Regions from separate parts of the Homo sapiens genome. Here region 2 is linked to region 1. The links are contacts of gene promoters, found by promoter capture Hi-C in human tissues and cell types (Jung and others, 2019). All regions are on one chromosome and are shown on one strand. Each heading gives the region's core, a stretch centred on a gene start or on the middle of the fragment in contact. The rest is flanking DNA. Distances are from core to core; before and after follow the strand shown.

What was found. The method cuts DNA at HindIII sites, captures the fragments that hold promoters and counts their contacts. A contact is called where the count stands out against the background at its distance.
Region 2: a contact is called between a fragment that was not itself captured here and the fragment with the promoter of MGST2 in region 1, in 1 of the 25 tissues and cell types used here (dorsolateral prefrontal cortex).

Annotation. Positions count from the first base shown.
Region 1 is chr4:139,659,926-139,667,532 of GRCh38, reverse strand. MGST2 (microsomal glutathione S-transferase 2) reads right to left here and starts at 1,714. Exons shown (of 5, transcript NM_002413.5): 1 at 1,456-1,714. The coding sequence starts at 1,513. RefSeq lists enhancers at 1,490-1,659, 956-2,155. The HindIII fragment of the contact is 4,625 bases long and covers 1,173-5,797 here.
Region 2 is chr4:140,894,247-140,902,009 of GRCh38, reverse strand. The region is part of intron 6 of RNF150 (ring finger protein 150); the gene reads left to right. Among named protein-coding and RNA genes, the nearest start is that of TBC1D9, 140 kb to the right of the region's middle. The HindIII fragment of the contact is 5,598 bases long and covers 2,502-7,763 here.

The DNA.
Region 1 (7,607 bases), core at 465-2,964:
TTCACCCAGTCTCCTCTCCTCTCTCCCCACCCCTACCCCCACTCCATCCAGCCCCCTAACATTCTGGCCCCAGTTCACACAGCCCCCTGCACAAGCAGCAAACAGGGAGGATGAGCACCTCTGTCAGCTTTGGGACATCTGTGGACCTGCAGGCCTAGGATAAAGGCGCATGCAGGTTTGGTAGCACCTGTGAGTCAGGATGCTACCAACAGTGAGCCTTAGACCTGCTAAATTAGGTTTAGCCTAAAGCTGCCTTCTGACATATTTTAAGTTCAGCCTAAAGGTTTCTCCGTACATCGTGAACTATATGCTTCCGTTTTCTGGGAGTCGCTTTCCTTTTTCTGTCCATAAATCTTCTTCTACCACGTGGCAGCCCCAGAGTCTCTCTGAACCTATTCCGGTTCCCCATGCCCAACTGTGAATCGTTCTTTGCTCAATTAAACTCAGTTAAATGTAATTTGTCTAGGGTTTTCCTTTTAACAGATCTAAGTGCTTCTTTAATTAGAAACAAATATCCTGCTCTTCTCCACAACAGATTGTGTGAATCAAACCACAAAACGTGAGTCTGAAGGTTCAAGATCTTCATACAATCTCAAAACAGACTGGCTAGGCAAGACATTGAGCATGCACGGAGGCCTGGACTGGATCCTCAGCTGTGAGGCCTTCCTGCTTCTGGCTGTTTGTGTAACCTGAGCAGTCTACGGCTTGGCCCTATTTCCTGGTACAGGCATACTTGGAAATATAAAGAAATATGCATGCTTGGTAAGAAGTCTTGCACTCTTGCACTCGGACCCCTTTCCCCAGCTGACATTGTAGGTAAGATAATATGAATTGAGCAAATGTGACTCCCATGGAGTAAAAGCCCTCTATTTAACCAGGCAGTCGAGATATTGAATAATCCTAGTGGGAAGCTGTTTTAAAATTTAGAGCTAATTACTTAATCTAAAGCTAATATTTCTGAAGGAAGTTTTTTTCAATCTGATAATCATACCACCATAGGCAGTTTATTTAAGAAAACACATTAATTAAAACATCAACGTTCAAGAAATCACAACCAGGTTTAGAAGCAGGCACGTTTCCTTTGGAACACTTGTAATTAATATTCACACCACTTCCTGCAGGTTAGCAGGCTACTAACGCTCGTTTGAACGGGCTGTGGGTCGTAATCACAGATGATGCAGAATCGCTGAGCTCTGAGGCCCCACAGCGTTCCAGTTGGGAGAACTAATCTCTGGAATGTTCTCAGTCTCTGCTTGCCCCTGGGAAGGAGGGTAGCAGGCGGCATGGGTGACCCTGAGGCGACTGTGCTCTGAGGACCCAGAGCTACCTGCAAGGGCAAGTAGGAAACAAAACACCGGACCCATCTCCCTCCCTCCCTCTCTCTCCCGCAAGCCTTGTCACACACACACACACACGCACACACGCGCACACACACGAACTTCCCATGCCTCTTACTTTGCTGACAGGCCGAGAGAATAGAGACAGCAGCCAGCAGGATCGAGTTCCCGGCCATCTTTCTCACGGAACTATTTGTAGAGCGCACGGGAAGATAAATGGCGCTTCTTGACTTTGAATGCTGACCTTCCTTATCGGGTAAACAAAGTTGGGGACCGGGTGGGGGGAAAAGGCTGATTCAAGCGGCTGAATGACCTTTGCTCTGGAACAGAAGTCAGGAAGGCAGGCAGGTCTGGGGCTGCCGGTCACAGATCTTTATGGGGCTGGGAGTTGCTTCCGGCGTTTGTTTTAAGCCTCTCCCACGGCCAGCGGGCAGGGCTGTAGCTCACTGTGGGACCAGCCCTCCAGCCGCAGTGCCAGTTACACTATCTTCTCTGCCAATGCACAGACTCTCTGGATCCCTTTCATCCCCACGCCCTTCCCTCCTAGGGCCTTGCTGAGACCTTTCTCACCTCCTGTGGAAAAAGTGAGAAGGAACTACTTACTTAATCCTGTTGACATTTTAAATGCTAATTTAAGCCAGTTCTAATGTATTCACGCTCTGAATGGCCGATTTAGGATTTGAACCCAGTCTAGCAGATTACAACTGTGCCCTATCCCCTGCACCAGGCTGCCTCTCACTGTCACCTAGAGACTCTGATAATAATCATACTTTTTTTTTTTAAGACAGGGTCTTGATCTGTCACCCAGGCTGGAGTGTGTGGTGGCACGATCATAGCTCACTGCAGCCTCCAACTCTTGGGCTTAAGTAATCCTCCTGCCTCAGCCTCCCAAGTAGCTAGAACTACAGCCACAAGTCACTGTGCCCAGCCATTTTTAAAAAAATAAACCGGCCGGGCGCGATGGCTCACACTTGTAATCCCAGCACTTTAAGAGGCCAAGGAGGGTGAATCACGAGGTCAGGAGATCAAGACTATCCTGGCTAACACAGTAAAACCCCTTCTCTACTAAAAATACAAAAAATCAGCTGGGCATGGTGGCACGAACCTGTAGTCCCAGCTACGCAGGAGGCTGAGGCAGGAGAATCTGCTCTTTAGAGATGCAGATTCTGGCCTGGAAGGATGGCTCATGCCTGTAATCCCAACAGTTTGGGAGGCTGAAATGGGCAGATGGTTTGAGCTCAGGAGTTCGAGACCAGCCTGGGTAACATGGCAAAACCCCATCTCTTAAAGAAATACAAAAATTAGCAGGGCATGGTGGCACGTGCCTGTAGTCCCAGCTACTTAGGGGGCTGAGGCAAGGGGATTGCTTGAACCCAGGAGCCTGAGACTGCAGTGAGCCAAGGTCGTTCCACTGCACTTCAGCCTGGGTGACAAAGTGAGACCCTGTCTCAAACAAATAATAAAAATAAAGATGCAGCTTCCCAAAAACCAGAGCTGGGGGCCTTTCCTCACCCCATCCTACAGCACCATTAGAGGGTATATCTTGGCTCAAGCTGCTATAACAAAGATACCATAGACTGGGTGGCTTACAATAGCAATTTATTCGTCACAGTCCTGAAGGCTGGGAAGTCCAAGATGACAGTGCTGGCCAATCAGTTCCTGGTGAGGGCCCTCTTCCTGGTTTGCAGAAGGACACCTTCATGTTGGAGACAGAGAAAGAGTAAGCTTCCTGGTCACTTCTTATAAGGGCACAGATCCCATTATGGGGGCCTATGCTCATAACCTCACCTGTAGCTAATTATCTGCCAAATGCCTGATAACATCACGTTGGGGGTTAGGGTCTCAACATATGAATTGCAGAGGGGACACAAACATTTAGTCCCTAGCAGGGAGCTCCCAGTGTCTTCTGGGGAGGGCAGTTGCCTCAGCCTCACACAGACCCTACAATTTAATAACACAACCTTGGGCCTCTCTGAGCCTCCATTTAATAAGATAGGGCTAATAAGAGCTGAAGAGAAGTTTAAATGACATAATCCTATTCTAAGGATTGAATTAGTTAATACTTATAGAGCACTTAAAACAGCACCTGGCATATACAAATGTGTTCTGTGTGTCTGCAAAATAAACACATAAAGTATCTAGACAAGTACTTAGCATATAATGTACCTAATGTTAAAAAATACTTTCAGAGGCAAAAATCATGCCTTTCATACAACATAAAATGAAAACATATCAAAATTTTTATGTAACTCATTCATGAGGGAACCAGTAAGATGTTATAACCAGTTCAAAGTAGAATTCATGGAACTACACATATACAGGAAAGAAGGAATAACAAAATTAATTTATAAATAGTTGCAAGCCAGGTCTGCTCAAAGTTTCTGTTGGTCTTCAGGCTTCCTTGGCTGTTTGCTCTTGAAATCATTGACAACTAAGATTAGATAAGAAAGTAGAGCCAAGAAGCTGGGGCAGCACCAAAACATTCTTGTATACTCAGTTTAATAGTTTTGGGCTTCAGTACATGGCAGAGATTCTAAACTGCAAACTAGCTGCCCTGAACCCATATCACCATCTACTATAATAACCTCCCAAATGACAGATCTCGAAGGAGAGGTCTACATTAGGCCTGGGGACAGGCAGAGGCTCTCAAAGTCAGAGAACGGCTCGGGAAGAGAGGAACAACAGCAGGAGGAGCTGAGCAGAGAATTGTGGCCCTGGCTGATGACTGTAACTTTTGGGTGTTGGTAACTCTTATTTTGAGAAACTCTTGGGTACACCTGTACTAGTCAACTGGTTTAAAATCTACAACTTCCGGCCGGGCGTGGTGGCTCACGCCTGTAATCCCACACTTTGGGAGGCCGAGGTGGGCGAATCACCCGAGGTTGGGAGTTCCAGACCATCCTGGCTAACACGGTGAAACCCCGTCTCTACTAAAAATACAAAAAAATTAGCCGGGCGTGTTGGCGGGCGCCTGTAGTCCCAGCTACTCGGGAGGCTGAGGCAGGAGAATGGCGTGAACCTCGAAAGCGGAGCTTGCAGTGAGCTGAGATCGTGCCACTGCACTCCAGCCTGGGTGACAGAGCGAGACTTCGTCTCAAAAAAAAAAAAAAAATGAAACTTCCCAGCTTCTGGACAAATCCTGAGGTTCCCTACTGACTTCTCCCAGCCAATCTTAAGTCAGTCCCCCAAATCCAGATTCTAAGAGATGGTTGACACAAAGTAAAAAAATAAAAAATCAATTAATCAATAAAATCTCAAGTGCTTCAAAACCCCACGTGTCTATTTAAAAAGATCTTCATTGTCGGTATATGTAGTTATTGCCTCTAGGAAAGTATAAAAGAATAGAGCATTGTATAATGAAATGTTTATCACCTTCTGCAGTGATAAAATTTCCAGGTGACCCACAGCTGAAATACTGCCATAGCATTAACAAAAACTCACAAAAATTAGAGTTTCTCTGTACGTTTTCCCTGGATTGGTTGAAGAGGAATGGCATTTTCCCTGAATGTTGTTCCCATAGATCCTTCTAGTATGTTCCATTTATTACATTTTTCTATGAAAAGGAAAATAAGAGGACAAACAGCATACTGGTAATTGCTATGGTCTGAATGTTTGTCCCCTCCAAAACTCATGTTAAAATTTAACTTCCATTATAATGGTATTAAGAGGTAGGACAATAAGGGGTGATTAGGCCATGAGAGCTCTGCTCCCATGAATGGATTAATGTTGTTATAGGAGTGGATTGTTATAAATGTGAGCTTGGCCCTCTCTTGCCCCCCCGCTTTGGGATGACATAGCACAAAGGTCCTTACCAGATGCCAGCACCTTGATATTAAACCTCCTAACCTCCAGAACTGTGAGAAATAAATTTCTTTTCTTTATAAATTACCCAGTGTGTGGTATTCTGTTATAGCAACAAAATGGAATAAGACAGTAATGATAGTAAAATGTTTTTAAAATATTTTTATTATCTATGTAAACTCAAAAGAAACCTAAAAGACTTTCTGAGGACTTTGGTTACTACTGAATCACTGTTACCAAAACTATACTCTAGGTAAGGTGAAACAGAGAGGCCAAGATTTGATCACATAAAAACAAACCTGAACCATGTAAAAGAACTGCTTTCATGAAATGTGAACTCTAAATGTAACTCTTTCAGTATAATTTTGGTAATAGATGAAAAGAAATGATATATTAAACTATAGAAATGTTTTTCCTCAGCCGGGCATGGTGGCTCACACTTGTAATCCCAGAACTTTGGGAGGCCAAGGTGGGTGGATCACCTGAGGTCAGGAGTTCAAGACCAGCCTAGCCAACATGGTGAAACCCCATCTCTACTAAAAATACAAAAATTAGCCAGGCATGATGGTGCACATCTGTAATCCCAGCTACTGGGGAGGCTGAGACATGAGAATCACTTGAACCCAAGAGGTGGAAGTTGCAGTGAGCCGAGAATGCGCTACAACACTCCAGCCTGGGTGACAGAGCTTGCTCTGCCAAGCTCTGTCTCCATCTCAAAAAAAAAAAAAAAAAAAAAAAAAGGTTTTTCCTCAAACCAATTGCAACCCCCGCAAATTATTCCCTGGTCTCACCCTCTCTGTTCACTTGCTACCCTTCCAAAATTGACAGCACATCATCCAGGTTTCTGCTGAGCACTACAGCAGGGCTGTCCTCACTGCCATCAGGCCAGGTAGCAGAAAGAGACAGAAAATACACCTCTTTCCCAGGAACTATCAGAGTGATCATGATTATCAATGACCACATAACTCTCCATGTACCCAGAGTTCATTACATTATCTTGCTAGAAGTCCTGACTAGTTGAAGAATCTTGTAACTACACAGCAGTTTTTCTGTGTTTTGTTTTGTTTTGAGACAGGGTCTTACTCTATCACCCTGGCTGGAGTGCAGTGACATGATCATGGCTCACTGCAGCCTCAACTTCCAGGGTTCAAGCAACCCTCCCACCTCAGTCTCCTGAGTAGCTGGGTTTAATAGTGGCTTTAACACAGTAAGTTTTTAAGCAAAGCTCAGATAAACACAATTTGAAATTATGCTCCATTTTGCTACATGTTGCAAAAATTTAGGAAATTTTAGTCATCCTACGGAATATTTTCTCCCATTTCAGAAACTGCAGCATTTTGCTTTGTAGCCCTGAGTGTGAAGAAATGAGCTAAAGAAGGCAAAGGCATTTTATTCCCATTGAGGAGACTTTGCCCTGGACCAGACAGGGCAAAGGGTTACAGTTGAATGCCAGCTACCTTCCAGCAGAAACTGCCCACTACCCAGCACCAGTAATGACATATCAAGGCTCAAAGATAAAGACAGAAAAAGAGAAGAAAGGCAAGGAAAATAAAGATCAGTTACCAATGTAGTGTAGAAAAAAAGAGTACAAGGTTTAAGCTCCTATCTCTGTGTCACGGTGGAAAGTTGCTAAACTTCCTGGACATGTGTTTTCAAAGGGAAATAATAATACTGACCTTGCAGGGTTCCTCTGATGAATAAAGGAAGTCATGTGAAGGAAGCAAATAGCACAGAACCCGGCATGATGCTGGCTGTCCACAGGTGTCACCACCCTGCCCATTCTCTCTGCCATCCTGATGCCCTCCAACCCTGGGCGAAAGCAGAAGAGACTAGGCCTATTTGTTGAAAAGGCCATATTACAAAGCAACAGATGATTTTAGAATGCCATTAGAATTTCTGAGACAGCACAGATTTCCCAGAAGAATAGAAACAGAACATTTGAATTGCTTCAAAATGGCTTTTGACAGTAATAGAGGGTCTCAACCTGAGTTGTCTTAAGTTTGCATAAGGCTTAGGAGAGGATAAAATAAAGCAGGATCTAGAGATTGGTGAGGAGAAATAGAAGTCCCCATTCTTGACAGCTCTCAGCACATGCAGCCCTCCCCACACACACAAAGTCACACACACACACATCCAGATTCATACACATTCCTACGCACACACACCCACACTCATAAACACCCACACACACGCACACACACTTGTGCACTCACACATTCACATTCATGTACTCCCATCACACATTCAAAACACACACTCATACACTTACATACTCTACAAAAACTTACGTTCCAAAAGGAAATTTGTAAGCTGAATGTTTAGACCTCAGAACACATATTTTCACAAAAATAATATTATGGCCAGGAGCGGTGGCTCACGCCTCTAATCCCAACTCTTTGGGAAGCCGAGGTGGGCGGATCACTTGAGGTCAGGAGTTCAGGACCAGCCTGGCCAACATGGTGAAACCCT
Region 2 (7,763 bases), core at 4,051-6,550, 1.2 Mb before region 1:
ATCTAACAAAATCATTAAGCATTTGGCCTCTGCATCTTTCTCCCTGCCTCTTCCCCACTCCCATCTGGCTCTTTACACAGAAGCATTTTAAGCCACTTGTGGTTCCAGGTACACCGTCCTCCCATGCTTCTCCCTCCACCTGCCAAATCCTATGTATCCTTCAAGCACATCTCATCTGCTGTATTCTCTGAGATATTTTCTCTGCTCCTCCAAGCAGAATCTGGTGTTTCTTTTACAATTATCTACTTTCAAATAGCTATCTCTGATACAATTTCTTGAGAAATCGCCAGTTACCCCCTTAAATTTATAGATCCTCAAAGGCTTGGACTGTGTGACTTTTTACCTTTATGTTCTAAAACCCAGCACAGTTTATGGCATACAGTTAGATTTAATAAACGTCAGTTGGATGAGTAAATGAATATGTTGAATTTTAAGGGAAACCAACTACAGTAATGGAAGGTAAAGGAGAATGTATTGCAATGTATATTTGTATTTTGGCTGCTAATGAAAATAATAAATATATCTTCCAATGATATTCAGCCTGGACCAAGGCACTAACAAACAATTCTCTGTATAGCCAGTTTCTCCAGAACGATAGTATGACCCTACCCCTGTGTGAAAGAGGAACACAGTGTTAAATTGGTCCCCCATCACAAGAGGAGAGGGAGACTAATGCCTTGTAGAAATGGACTGATTTATTATTTATCATTATTGATATTGTACTATGCAGCAGAAATGGAATTAAAAGCATCAGAGAAAGATGAAATAGCGGAAACAGCAGCAAAGGAAAATGTCACAGAGAAAGATTCTAACGTCTAACTGTGCATAAATTTCTGCAAATGCCCTGCTAATATCATAAAACCAAATGCCCAGAAACCACTGAAGACTTAAATGCAGCTTTTCGTTTTTGTTTTATACCATCTACACGACCTTTACTATTTTATATTAACCCATGATAAATAAAGATGACCCTACTGTGAGATAATGTAGGTTTGAGAAAACTGCATGACTTTGGAGTCAGACAGATCTGGACCCAAATCTTGGTCTGGCCACTTACTTACTAGCTGTCACCAATTCACTTAATATCTCTGGGCCTCAGTTTCCTCTTCATGAAAATTGTCAAAATAGAACCTACCTCATAGGTTTGTTGTGAAGGCTAAATGAATCGATATGTATATATATATATATAAAGTTCCTAGCTTGGTGCCTGACACTTAAGAAATTATAAATGTTACTTCTCTCCCCACCCCACACACCACTTCTTCATGAGAATGATATTGGTCAGACACATCATGGTATATATTGATGAAATTGAAATTTCTAGATATAAAAATATCTGCAAGGTATCTTTGTCAGTTTCCAAGATGTAGTGTCGAGGCCTGAGAGCTCTAGATTGTATCCTAAACCATCTGCCTGTGGGGATGAAAACTGACATCACCTTGCTCGTCTTCAATTACCAGAACTACTTTAGTTCCTGAGCAGAATGGCTTGCTTGCTTGTAGTTATTTATTTTTTCACTAATTGATCATTTGAGTGTTACTGAGTTACTTAGCTATAGTCTTTATGACCATGATCTCATATAAAATTATGAATGTCCTTACAACCTTATTTCCAGAGAAACCTCTGAGGTTATCAGCATCACCACTAGTCAGCCCATCAGTAAATTGGCAACCCATTAGTGTCAATTCCTAGAAAGTTGTAATTATGCCCTTTCTACACATGGCTCTGTATTGGTTATATTCAACAGATAGTGGCCCTGCCAGTAACCTTAGTGTTTTGAGCATAATGACCCATAGACAACTGCTCTATGAATAAAGCAGCAATTTCAGATTTCTAGGTCTTGATGATCTTTTTGTGTTTATAAGTTGAACCTCAGGGGACAATTTGGAAGAAAAATTTTGGAAATATCCACTGCTATTAGGTTGGTGCAAAATAAATTGCCATCATGGCAGAAACTGCCATTTCTTTTGCACCAAACTAATCTCCAGGTTTGCAGCAAATGGGACACACACACACACACACACACACACACACAGAGAGAGAGAGAGAGAGAGAGAGAGAGAGAAAGTGAGAGAGAGAACCTACTAGGATACCTTTTAAAATACAGAAATATCTAACTCACTCACCAGCTTCTTCTGTGGTGGTCCTCACTGCAAGTTTTTCCCCCACTTTGGGGAAAAATTTTCAGGGAAAACTTCTGGAGAAAAGAAAATATATTGCAGCTGAAGTGATTTAGCCAGATTCTCCTCCCCACATCTCTCCAGGACACAATTGTGGTTATCAGTTAGGACACTCTTCACTTTGTTTGGATAATTCTGAGTGTGCAAGGATGCTTAGAAGACAGTTCTTCCTCCTCGCTCCATAGGCTTCCCAAGGAGCACACACCAGGACATCAGGATGAGAGTCAAGCCAGGTTCCCTGTGCACACACATACACATGCATACACACATGCACACACACACCACCACCACCACCAATCTCCAGCCTTGGCTCATCACCCAGAATGACTGGATAGAGTTAGATGTAGAATTAGATGTCTAGGAATTTCCAGGATTATTCTAGGCAGAGGTATCAAACTGGTGCCACCTGTGACTCTGCCTGCCTACAAATGAAATGTGTTTGGTCTTCAGAATGCTTCTGATAAAGTTCAGTTAGGAGCCCACATTTAAATATGGCAAGGTTTTACATAGAAACCTGAATTTTCAATTTGGAAAATCTGGAAGCTGCAGCAATCCTGGGCCACATTTCCTTATGGTGACACTTGGTTCAGCCCTTTTGAGGCAAAGCACGTCCTCTGCAGTTCACTGCAGCCTTGCAATCCCAAATTTATGGACAGTTTCAGGGCAGCAGTACTTCTTTCACACACAGTGCTAAGATCAATGTTTTGAATGTTCCTATTAGATCTCATTTAAAAAAAAACCATTAGTAAAATCATACAGGGAAACAATACGTGTGCCTATGAGCCAACAACATGCACAGTTAACACACTGTCTCGTATCTAATGTTCGCAGCAGGGAGGAACAATTAGTAGATTTATAGACCAGAGTTCCATCAAAATTTTTTTGTCAAACAAATCACTCATTTCTATAAATTAAGACTTATGCCTTAATCAGGGCTGTCAGCACAAGAAAGTATTGGCTGCACTTACACTCCTGCTGTGCAACAAGAACAGTGGAATGAATTTTTAAAAGAAAAATAATCCCATAATAGTACTGCCACTGTTATTTAAATAGGAGTTAGAAAATAGGACTTAGAAATCAAAGTTTAAGCATGAACTCAATGGGTTAAAAAGCATATCTTCCTTGTTAAAAAACTGAGATAAAAATATATGTAGTTGGATACATAAATACTTGCATACACAAGCACATACATGCATGCATATGTGGAAGTATGTGTGCCTGTGCACATCTGTATACCAAGTGTGCCCATGCACCTATGTAGGAACATAAACCTATAACATGTTCATATATGCATATCATATGTGTCAGACATTTGTACCTAAAGCAGTACTTCGACATGCATGCACATCTGTGCTTTTATCTAGCATAAATGCATGACTGCACGCATACATACATGTTACTCAGTACCATCAACTTTATGTAATAGTAGTTAGCCATGTCTCAGCAGGGATGATTGAAATTTCTCATCATGGGTCTCCTGATTACTCCTAGAAATGAAACTGTAGTTGCAGCTTACCTCATAAGAGAAAGAACAACTCAAAAAAAAAAAATGTGTGCATCATTTTTTTTGTTAAGTGAACCTAAGGCTCTCTAATATCTGGAAAAATTAAATATGCCCCTACAAGTAAGGCAGTTCCTAATTTTAGGAATAGTATATCCCTAGCATCCAAGCCCTATGATAGAACAACACCTTTGGGGCCAGGTAAAATTGTATGTGTCCATCCATACTGAGTGGTAGTAGGTCTCTTCATCTGGTGGGGCATCAAGGAACATGATCAGATAGTAAAGGCACTGTAAGTAAACTGTAGGTCTTTGTTAGACAGCAGAGAGAGGTATTGAAATTTCCCATCCCTAATTTATGTCCCTGACAATAATGTACGTTCTTGGTAGTAAAGCTAGGTCAAGGCCCAACCCTGCCACCTGCTATCTGTGTAACTTTGGACAAATAGCTCAACCTCTCTGTACCTCTAGTTCTCATCTGTAAAATGGAGGTAATTTAGAGAATACCTACCTCTGGGATTAAATGTAATGCAATAATCCTTAGAAAAGTACCTGGTCCATAATAAGCATTCAAAAAAAATGTTACTGTATAGAAGAGAAGGTGAAGGGGCTCAAACACTAGTAAACTTTGTGCCAAGAATCTTAGAGAGCTTTACATATTTTATTTAACCTTTACAATTATCACTCTTTTATATCTAAGAAACTGAATTAGAGAGCAGTCTAGGAACCATGTCAGAGGTCACACATGGAGTAAATGGCAGGGCTGGAGGGAAAACTCTTGTCACTCTCATCAAAGCCCAGATTCTTTCTCCAGTTTCTCAAACCAGTTTCTAGCTATGGTCTGAACACCCACCTGGGCTGTAGTTGGAGTGCAGATCCATAGGCCCCTCCCCAGATCTACTCAATCACAGTTTCTAGGGGTAGGCAGAGAATTGTCACTTCTATCAGGCTTCCTGAGCAATTCGTTCTAAAGCCAGAGTTTCAAAACGTATGCCCAGCAACCCCAGAGTGCCTGCCCGAGGAAAACAGAACCCAAGACAATGCACACATTCTAAGTGGTATCTTATCCCTGCAGCGTCTTGAAATTTTCTCATATTAATTGTATGCAGGGGTACTGGAGGTAGAACATTCTCTTCAGTCAAACTAACTTTACCTATTTCTTGTTTACTCTGCCTTGAGAATCTCCCCACTGAACACATAAGTGCAATTGTGTGTGCTTGATCCTTGGAGGATCCTTCTTAAGAGACCTGTGCTGTGTGTTGATACATGCAATAAAGATGACCACTGGATCCTTACAGCCCTGGTCCAAATCCCAAAATACAATGATAGAAAATACAAGTAGGTTTTTACTTAGTCATGCCTTACTTGTGATCTTGATGGAGGTTTAATCCTAGCAGCCAACATTGCTATCTGGGGAAGTCTGCTGCCTTTTGATTATTATAATAATGGCTTCTTTGCTCATGAAACATCCCCGACCTGATGTGTGACCTACACACGGTGGTGCAGGCATTCTCTTACATTTTTAGCATAAGCCGTAATTCTAGAATCATCTACTAGAAAAAGGAAGTGCTTCCTTTCTTTTTTAAAGAAAAAAAATTATTTTTTTTTGTTTGTTTGTTTGTTTTTTTGTTTTTTTTTTTTTATTATACTCTAAGTTTTAGGGTACATGTGCACATTGTGCAGGTTAGTTACATATGTATACATGTGCCATGCTGGTGCGCTGCACCCACTAATGTGTCATCTAGCATTAGGTATATCTCCCAATGCTATCCCTCCCCCCTCCCCCGACCCCACCACAGTCCCCAGAGTGTGATATTCCCCTTCCTGTGTCCATGTGATCTCATTGTTCAATTCCCACCTATGAGTGAGAATATGCGGTGTTTGGTTTTTTGTTCTTGCGATAGTTTACTGAGAATGATGGTTTCCAATTTCATCCATGTCCCTACAAAGGATATGAACTCATCATTTTTTATGGCTGCATAGTATTCCATGGTGTATATGTGCCACATTTTCTTAATCCAGTCTATCATTGTTGGACATTTGGGTTGGTTCCAAGTCTTTGCTATTGTGAATAGTGCCGCAATAAACATACGTGTGCATGTGTCTTTATAGCAGCATGATTTATAGTCCTTTGGGTATATACCCAGTAATGGGATGGCTGGGTCAAATGGTATTTCTAGTTCTAGATCCCTGAGGAATCGCCACACTGACTTCCACAATGGTTGAACTAGTTTACAGTCCCACCAACAGTGTAAAAGTGTTCCTGTTTCTCCACATCCTCTCCAGCACCTGTTGTTTCCTGACTTTTTAATGATTGCCATTCTAACTGGTGTGAGATGATATCTCATAGTGGTTTTGATTTGCATTTCTCTGATGGCCAGTGATGATGAGCATTTCTTCATGTGTTTTTTGGCTGCATAAATGTCTTCTTTTGAGAAGTGTCTGTTCATGTCCTTCGCAGAAAAAAAATTCTTTAAAAATCTTAGATACTGAAATAAGTCCTTGAATGAGCAGATCAAAAGATAAGTTTTGAAAGAATTACCATTGGTTTTCTCAGATGCATAATTTTACTGAGGGAAGAATTCTTTGGTGTCATAAAATTAACTACCATAAGAAAAAGGATAAGACAACAAGGCTACATTTCATAGTTTCTTTGGGTGCATTGCAGCTAAGATCTGCAACACAGAACTAAGAGTTGGTAACTGCTAAGCAGAATGATCTGCCACCAAAGTTAAGAGTATAGACAATGTGTTCTGGGAGCTGATAATTGGCAGGAGGTAATAATGGTAGGAACTCTATTTTTCTTTGTTTTTATTTTCCTATCTTGATGAACAATTACAGTTATGGAACATATGGAACCATAGCTTTGCTCTTATAATGTATATAGGCTAATTTCCTACAGAGACATATGTTTTTTGCTTCCAAGGCATATTGTGGGGACTTTGACTTACATTGATGCATAGCTATGCTTATAATATGCCCATTTTCTACTTCCAGGGCTGTCTCAGTGCCTAAATATTCAGCTTCCCCTTAGAGAAACCCTGTCTCTAAAAATATAACCATAAAATAGAAAAATATACTCACTTATGATGCTGGAATTCCCATCAAAGCTTTGAAGGAAAAATGTTCAAACAGTCTCAGAAATCCCAATTAGCCCTCATGCTACCTGTGCCCCCTGACCCTCTCCAGGAGATTTTCTCTTAAAGGGAGTGGGAGAAAACCAAAGGGGACCTGGGACTTAGTCTCTAGTGGGTTAATGAACAGGATCCACAAAGGTAATGTTCTCAAGGACCCTCACTTCTTTTTGCCAGGCTTGCAGATTCCTGGGGCAAGAAAGAGTCTGCTCTCCCTGAGAGTTCCCTGAATTGAAGATGCTCCCTTGGTATCCATGGAGACTCAGGCAGCTCAGCCCCAGATGAGCAAGTTATTTGTGACTTCGAGATTTATGGATTTGTTCACTCTGCACCATACTTACATTATTGACAAGGCATCTACGTTACAGGAAACTGCCGACATAGTCTCAGGCAGCTTTCTTCATGGCAAAATAATATAAAATATTTGCAGGCCGGACAAAAATAAACATTGAAGATCTATTCAGCAGTACCTACTATTTAGGACATGGGCCATGTTTGTGGCTGCAGATTTTTTAAGAATACAAGTTCAAAATGTGCATTGATTGTTTGCTACTGGGAAGCACTGGCAAAATGTTAAACAAAGCATGCACCAATCAAAGGAGGGGACCCAGGATCTCTATCATGGACAAATATTTAGGGTTATTTGTCTTAAATATTTATGGAGTTTAAAAAGTGGGGGATGGGGCTCACTATAAACATCAGTAATCATCCCAAAAAGCAGCAGCATGATCCTTTAAAAAGAAAGAAAAATTCAGAAACTACGTGAGCCACATGTTAAAATGACTTTCTGTTGTGGAAAGGTCACAGAATATATTAACAATAACTAGGGAGAGAAAACATCATAAAACACTCTGAAGATACCTAGAAGACCTCATCAGAAGTTAATCTGGAAGTCTTTCATTAATTAAACACAGCTATTTTACCAAAAGATGTTGGTGATTTAGCATAA